Regions from separate parts of the Homo sapiens genome. Here all the other regions are linked to region 3. The links are contacts of gene promoters, found by promoter capture Hi-C in blood cells and fetal thymus (Javierre and others, 2016). All regions are on one chromosome and are shown on one strand. The core of a region is centred on a gene start or on the middle of the fragment in contact, and the rest is flanking DNA. Distances in the headings are between cores, read along the strand shown.

Evidence for each region. Contacts are between HindIII fragments. The CHiCAGO score rates a contact against its expected background, and 5 or more counts as called.
Region 1: a fragment that was not itself captured here is called in contact with the fragment with the promoter of GNG11 in region 3 in 1 of 17 cell types (naive B cells); the score reaches 5.1 in naive B cells.
Region 2: a contact is called between a fragment that was not itself captured here and the fragment with the promoter of GNG11 in region 3, in 1 of 17 cell types (endothelial precursors). The highest score is 5.1, in endothelial precursors.

What each region holds. Positions count from the first base shown.
Region 1 is chr7:94,400,565-94,403,264 of GRCh38, reverse strand. COL1A2 (collagen type I alpha 2 chain) reads right to left here. Exons shown (of 52, transcript NM_000089.4): 6 at 1,645-1,698. Among named protein-coding and RNA genes, the nearest start is that of COL1A2, 7.0 kb to the right of the region's middle. The HindIII fragment of the contact is 1,298 bases long and covers 718-2,015 here.
Region 2 is chr7:94,206,023-94,208,722 of GRCh38, reverse strand. No RefSeq gene overlaps it. Among named protein-coding and RNA genes, the nearest start is that of COL1A2-AS1, 180 kb to the left of the region's middle. The HindIII fragment of the contact is 1,613 bases long and covers 605-2,217 here.
Region 3 is chr7:93,920,410-93,923,109 of GRCh38, reverse strand. GNG11 (G protein subunit gamma 11) reads right to left here and starts at 1,375. Exons shown (of 2, transcript NM_004126.4): 1 at 877-1,375. The coding sequence starts at 972. All of the region lies in intron 1 of LOC105375402 (a long non-coding RNA gene), which reads left to right. RefSeq lists an enhancer at 1,138-1,773. The HindIII fragment of the contact is 4,145 bases long and covers 1-1,701 here.

The DNA of each region.
Region 1 (2,700 bases), core at 117-2,616, 480 kb before region 3:
GCTTAAATTATATTTCACTGATATTTCAAAGTAAAATACTCTGCTTTATGCCAAGACAGATGTTCCGAAAACAGGGGTATCTGAAATCCATATTAATTTTCCCAGCTTAGTGGGCTTTTTAAAAATGACATTTAGTAGCTCTTTACTTTCCGCCCCCTTGCTTCTTCTTGAGATGTAGGTACTGCTTTAAAACTGACTAATGTCCAGCATTAGCTGAAACAGCTAATTTCAAAAATCCAATATAAACAAAGCCAAAAGAAACACTCTACTTTTTCATTTCAGATATGAACATTTTAAACTACCAGAAAAAATTAGGGAATTAGAAGTCGTCAATTAAAGGTACATTATTTCTCAAGTGGGAGTTTTAATTTACAGAAAATATTATCTCACCCTTAGAGTATATTAGCTTACTGTGGGCCATTAGCTCCAGCAGAACATCTTCTTTTGAAGATAGAGCACTAAGTGCACTGCCCAGGTAAAATTTACATTTTAAAGACCTTGTTGACTTTGGGCAGATAAATACCTTTGTTTTGAAACAATTAATTAAAATCACTAAATTGCGTGTGTGTGTATACATTAAATTCTGTAGTGCTTAATCAACCTAACACTTTGACTTCTGGCAGTTTTCCCCTCTATTTCATATATGCTAGTATACATTTTGCATGCTCGTATTAGCATTTTTCCCTTCAAACTTCTCTCTAATGCTTGTTAGAAGCTTCATTTGTTAATAGTCATCATCATCATCATCATCATATAGGGAATGTTTCTAAGCGGTGCTCCACTGATAGGGTATGGTGCTGAATATTTGTACTGAGTGACATAAATGCTAGATTTTTACTCATACTCTCTTCTATATAGATTTACAATCAATAGACTAAAAAAGGATTTTTTTGGTCAAAATTCAGAAAAAGAAACATTTCCTATATTGTTAACTCCTTGAGGAAGGATCAGAATCTGTCATATTCCTTGTAATTTCCCCAGTTCCTAATACAGTTTAGGGCCCATTGAAGGCATCTGATTAATATCTGTTGACTAAATGAGTGGTTTATTCAAGGACTAGGTACATAAACCATGATGTAAGCAAATATTAGACATCTTGCCTGGCATCTAGTTCTAGTTATGTCATTAGTTACCTGGATGACTTTGAGAAAAGGGCTTAAACTCTCCCATTTTAAAATGAGTTAGCTGGACTAGATAGAACTTGTTGATCCTTTCCAACAAGTTCAGAGAACTTAATAAATAGTTCTATGCCTCTAAGTGTTGCTTAAAATTCTAAGCAATGTTAAAGAATATTAAAAAATTAATCAGAGTGATTACTGTTTTAAATTAAATTGATTTGCCCAAGTTATGGTTACTATGTCCAAAGATTATTTCTTGGACATAAGTATATGATCTATCTTAATGAGGATCATATAATCAAAAAGATCATATAATCATAAAAGATCAATTAATCTTTCTTTTGTAAAGAAAAGTGAACTCCTTAACTTATGTTTTCATAAATTTGAAAACAAAAAGAGTTGTTTTTATATAATCTAAGTATTGAGTGTTAACTTAGGTAGCTAAATAAATGGCGTGGTAAAATGTGACATAAAATGAATGATTTATTTAGCAATTTTTTTGGCTAAGATAAACAGATAAGCATACCATTGGTCCAGGGCCAAGTCCAACTCCTTTTCCATCATACTGAGCAGCAAAGTTCTAGAGAAGTAAAAAAAAAAAATTATATATATATATAAAATATTTTTAGTTACTAGTCATGTAGTTCATTTTCTCATTCTACTTGTAAATATTTTTCTGTTGTTATTTAAAAGAGGGCAATGTTTTTGATATAATTATTAGTTTAAAATTCTATATTGAACTAAATTCCTAAAAAGTTATGAGAGCTGTACGTCAAAAACTTGGCCGACACCTCTTTGAAATGGAGAACTTCCCTACTTTACTTTTTGAGCCCTTCCTCTGCCTTAACTCGGTGTCTCCACTCCCACCTTTTACCTCTACTCTGAGGAAGGGAAGCTTTCTAAACTTTTAATGTTACTAAGGGCTCCTGACAAATTAGACAGAGCTCAAGAGGACATCTTCACATTTTCACCTGTTGCCCTTCCCCACCGGAGCTACACAAAATGACTAAGAGATCTTTTTCTTGCTGGAGTTTCAGGAAGGGCATAAAGAGTTTTCAAGTTTAGAGGAAAATTAAATTAAAATACCCCTTGGAAGATAAAACTTCTAAAAACTAGTTCACAGTAATAACTTTACTGTTAAAGATCTCTCTTATAGTGGTAGCTCTATTAAAGAAGCTGCTTTTTAATGCAATTCATAGATAAGCAATCATAATAAGATCTTTGGGGGAGAAAGGTCTTATTTTACTGACATACAGTTGGGTATTAGAATCAGGCTTCTGATTCATAGTGCTAACCAATTAAGCAAATATGTTTTCCTTCCTGCAGTGAGGTCATTTGGCACTCATACCATTGTTAAAGACATGAAGCTAAAAGAAGATATTAATGAAAAAGGGAAATGTACTTTTCTCAAATTAGTTTCAAGCAAATTAAACCTAAAACCGCTTTGAATGTTGGTTCAGCAGACTTCAAGTCAAGGAGAATAAAAAGCGTAGGATGTTTGTAAAATTGCTTAAGATCAGGGATTTCACTTACACAGTTCAATCTAATCAAAATCCTTAATAATGCAACACCTCTTATTTGT
Region 2 (2,700 bases), core at 162-2,661, 290 kb before region 3:
GCAGCAAAAACAATGTTTTGGGTCTGAAATACATATTGATTCATGTGTTTCTTCACACGGAAGTATGTGATATCTCATATTAGTTTGTAAACTCTGAGCCAGTTTAAAAGATAAATTGTAAGAATGAAGTGCTTAAAAACTGGGACAAACAATGAGAAATATGAAACTTTGATAATTCTTCAGAAGGGAAGCAGAAAGAGTTCTGGAAATATAAGTTAAAGTAATTAAGATTTTTTCCATGTTTATGAATTAAGTAGGCACCTTGAAAACTGCATCTGGGAGGCAGTTTTCCCTAGCATACTATGTGTTTAGCAAGAAGGAGCAAAGGAGAGGTGGCTTTGCCTAAATTTAGGGAACAGTGGTGGATTACAAAAGACATTGAGGAGAAGGGGACTCTTGAGGTGAGCTTCGATAGGTAGGAGTTAGCCAGGCAAAAGATTACTATATGAATAAATGGCACAAATGGGGTTGGTAGGGAAGTATCACACCAATTAGGAAATTTACTTTCTGGAAAGAATAATAAATGGTGTTAAAATAAACAGAGATAAGTCCTGAAAGGGGTTAGAGTTCTCAGTTGATACCACTGATACTAATCACCAAAGCTTTTGGTGTGAGGTTTTGTTTATGGTTGGTACACTATTGAATCCCTGCCTTAAATTAAGATAAAGATACGTTTCATCTTCCTTTTATTGCATGTCTACCTAAAATTGCAACTGCTGGCATTTATATTTTCTGTCTGGTGGTTCTACTCAACAGGGAGTCCTCAACAGCAAAAATTGGATTATGCGTATTCCCTGAGTGGAGCTTAGTGCCTGGTATATTGTATGTGGACTCTAGAGATACATGGAAGTGAATGAATTTGTTGGCAATTGTGTGTGTGTGTGTGTGTAGAGGTGTTTAGGGGCAACTTTCAACTCTTTTTGAGAAATGTGGACACATGGGGTAACCAGCAAATAGAACCCCATACCCTGATGCTTCCATGCTTCCAACAGAAACATGGAGAAAAAGATGACAAATATTCTAGGATAGACCATTGCCAAAGAAAGAAACTGTGAGATTGGGTTTTCTGAGAACTTAGGTAGGTAACAGAATTGAAATGGGTGTTAAGCTAGAGATTTGAAGGAGAGCAAAATCCTGACATTCTTTAAACTATTGAATTGTAAGTTCCCCAAATTTAAAATTCTCATTACATACAGTAAATTCCATATTTCTGCAATTCACTGGAAACTTAGGAGATATGAAATACCATTGATTGAGTTCTGGGACTGAAGGAGAAAGAATGCCTTCCTGTGGTCTTCTGGTTCTCAGTAGTAGTAAACATTAGGGACCAGAAATTCTGAGGCTTGAGAATAGAATATAAACCCCATGGATCGTAGCAAGGATCAAAATTGCCAGGATAGCTTTTCAAAATAGGTATAACTGAGCCCACCTTCAACACTTAAACTGAATCCAAGCATGTGCATTTATGAAGATATTTCACAATGGATGTTTATGTATAGCCCTGGATGAGGACTATTGATAAAGCATATACAAATAACAACACAGTGGCAACAATAACAACAGCTGCTGTACAGCTTATAAAACATTTTAAACTACATTATTTTACCTAATCTTCATAATAACCCTGTGAGATAAGTAGTGCTAACCCATTTTACAAAAAGAGAAGCTGATATTTGGAGAGGTCCAATAAATTTCCCATCTCTGTAGAACAGCAGAGGTACTCTCAATCCCAAGTATTCTGACTTTTCTAGTATCAAATTCTTCTTGGCACAAAGTATTTTACATCATACTGATCACATTTGAAATATTCCTTTTTCCCATCTCATTCACCATAATTCCTTCCTTATATGTATCCTACTCAGTGGAATCCCACTTTGGAAAGCTGTTTTCACACAGATATATTGGCAGGATTCTAGAAAGTTTAGTTTGGTAACTCCACTTTGGAATGAGCAACATTGACAATGATATCACTTTGATAACTCCATAGTAATATTAGCAAAATGATATTAAATATTTTAATTGCAAGAAATATACAGGGGTTTCCAATTTTAAATTGGAAATTTAAAATTTAAAATATCCAACTTTAAGAGAATTCCAGTTGCCAGATTAATGTTATACTAGTATCGGAGGAAAGTAATTAGCATTAAAGGCTAATTCTTTCCTTGCCTCACAGTTACACAATATGGTGACTAGATATTAACTTTTGAAATCAAAGCTTCAAGAATGGATATACAAATGTTCTTATTGAGCAATTTCAATCCCTGGAGAAATTTCTCAGAAAAAAAAATTGCCTTCCTGAATTAGGAGCTTTCAAATATCAGTCAAGAATTGGAGTATGTTTCCATTTATATTCTAAAAGTGTTTACAGTAATTCCTTGTTGGAGAAGTCCTTCAGTCCTTTGCCTTTTGTCTTCCCTCGCAGTGCAAGCTTTCCTTTCCACAGAGGATTTTCTATACTCACATTTTTTCTTTTGCATTTACTACATTTAATATTTCTTTCTATAATCTTGCTTTTCCTCTGTGTATTTACAGCTCATTACTTTTCTTTCCATGGAATTAATCTACATAGAGTAATGTCCCTTGATGATTAATTATTTAATAATAAATTATTATTAATGTAATCTTGATTTTAACAAAAATCTTTTTAGACAATTCCCAAAGTTTCTAGAGGTCAAAGAGAACAAATTCACAATTTAATCA
Region 3 (2,700 bases), core at 126-2,625:
AATTATCTTTAAACAATATCTATTCAAAGACCTTTCCTAGTCTACAGGATGCCTGATTGAGTTAAAACAGGAAGAGGGATTAGTGTCTGAAGGAAGGTCTTGATGACCAGTAAGAAATTGAAGTAAAACTTATAAAACTCCCGAGACGTTTCAGTGGAGAATATTGAATACTGGGTCATATGTTCTCAATGAAATGGTAATCTCTATCAATAGTCTCTAAAACTTTAAAATTGTGATCACTAAAAAAATTTTTCATATGCACCACAGTGTATGTATAATTATTTATAAATAAGTACAGATACTACTGTATTAATCGCATACTAATAAAACATAAAGTGAAAATTATAAAGGGATGAGATTTACAAATAAATATAGAAATTCTAATATTTTGTTCCCAAATTTCGGTGGACTGTTCTTTGCATATCACTGAAGGCCACTGGTGAAATTCAAAATTAAATAATGTACTTGTAAGACTTTAAAATACGGTTTTAGAAAATTTCTTTCAAATATCATCCTTTCTAGTAGTGTAAAAGATCAAAGAACCAAGTAGCTATCCGCTTTTTTCCTACAAGTGAGTTTTGAAAAACAGCTGTCTAATGGAAAGCAAGATTTCTTGTCTATTTTCCCCTTCCTAGGCATCTTAAAAGTTAGGACATTTGGCCTTAAATTACTTATCAGATCCTTGCTCCCTCCTCTACCTCCTAGGATTTCCCCACATCAGCTGGCAGTCCCCAGGCACTGCCAAAGGGTGGTGAGAAGAGAAGCTACAAAAAGGGGGAAAAATAAGCTAAACTATTTGCTTTACTGTTACTAAGCAGGAAAAATCGGACCCTGCTTCATTTCAGAGAAGGAAATATTCCGGAACAGCCAACTTACTTGTTGTCTCTGCAACTTCACTTCTTTGCGAAGCTGCTCAACTTCCATTTTCAGTTTTTCCTTCTCTGGCAAATCTTCGATGTGAAGGGCAGGCATTTTCGCCCCAGAACCGGGCTCGGGCTAGCTCTGGCAGCGGAGCCGCTGGAAGAGCGGCGAAGCTCGGCGCGTCCCGAAACAACTGAAGGCCTGGCCCGCCGCCCACCCGCGCAGGATGTGACTGCAGCCCTGCTGCGGTCCCCAGCTCCCCGAGGGCTTGGCTTTCTCCGGGACGCTTGTCACGCCAGCGTGCCCCAGCTTCCTAGGACCTGAGAACTCTGCCTTTTCTCAAGTCCCTGCAACCCAGGAGGCCTGCCCGGGTGCTAGATGAGGGTTAAGTTTGAGACTGGGTCCAAGCAGCTTCCCGCTGCTCAATCGCCCAGCAGGGATGCTGGCCACGGACAGGCCCTGACTCAGGACCTGCCACGCCCGCGGGGGACGGCTGGGCTGGGGCTGCAGGACTGGGAACAGCAGAAGTTTTACTTTGTGTTCTCCGCGCACCCCCGCTCCTTTTTTTTTTTCCGTTTCCAAGTCACATCCGGGTTTTGTTTGTGAAGCTAGGAAAAGGAGTACACTACCCAGCAGGAAATAACTACCCTTCACCTCTCAAAGAGTTTTAAAAATATGCTAGATATAGCTTTTCCCTAATTACATACATAGGTTGTTGCAAAAGTAATTACTTTTCTCTAATTACATATATAGGTTGGTGCAATTAGTTTTGCACCAACGTAATAAATGCATAGTGGAGAATGCGGACGCTTAAGAAAAGGCTGAAAAGAAAATGAAGCTTAGCCCTAATCCCAGAAATACCCACCAGTGTTCTGCTCATTTGTGTCCATCCGGCTTGTTCGAGGCCTAATATGGGTTTATACATTTTGGGCGAGGAGGGGGCAACAGGGTGTGAATATCGTTTACAAGTTGCAAGAACATTTTCTATTATTAAATAATCATCTGCATCCTCAACAGCAGCAGAGTTTGTATTTTTTTTATTTTTCCGGGGGAATGTTATGTAGAGGGGTGCATCAAAGGATGATATAAGAGAAGACAGAAGCAGGAATCTTAGAGTTCTTAACCGAAAGCCTTTCTCCACTCCCCAACCCTAAGTTTTGGGTGACACTTGACACCAAGGATTTTGAATTCCTGGCTCCTGAACCTTCCTGGATGTAGGCAGTGGATTCATTTAGTATTAGTTTCTCCACTTTCTGGCAAGCACTATTTATCTAGCTGTTGCTCTGGAAAGCCAGGAAAAGTGTCCGATGTGAAAAAAGTTTACATGCAATAAAACTTTCCCTTTAACTGTAACTAAAGTCTTGTTGATGGTGGTCAAAAGAGTAGAAGAAAAATCAAACATGAATGTAAGAAACCTTCCCTAGCAGTTGGATATTTCTCTTTCTTTCCAGAGATAACCTCCTGCCTCACAGAGTCAAAGGCAAGTGAAATATTAACTTAATATTTCAGAGTAGCTGACCCAAGACACCCATGACCATTCCCTGTTTAGGAAGCAGGAGTTTTTGTTCGTTCCTAGTTTCTTACCACGCTCCGCTCAACCTCAATGAATAAATTAGAATGAAAAAAACAATGAACCACTTAATGAATACTCCTGGCGTGTAGTTGCAGCTCTGCCACAGGCCATCACTGAAGAAGTCATTTAATTTTTCTTAGTTTTGGTTTTCTAATTTGTAAAATGTATAGTAAGGCAGGGAAGTAGTGAATCAGCTAAGCTATGTTGTGTCTCTAATTGTGTTGGTATGTCTATATATGATAAATCATTTTCACAAAGAAAATGTT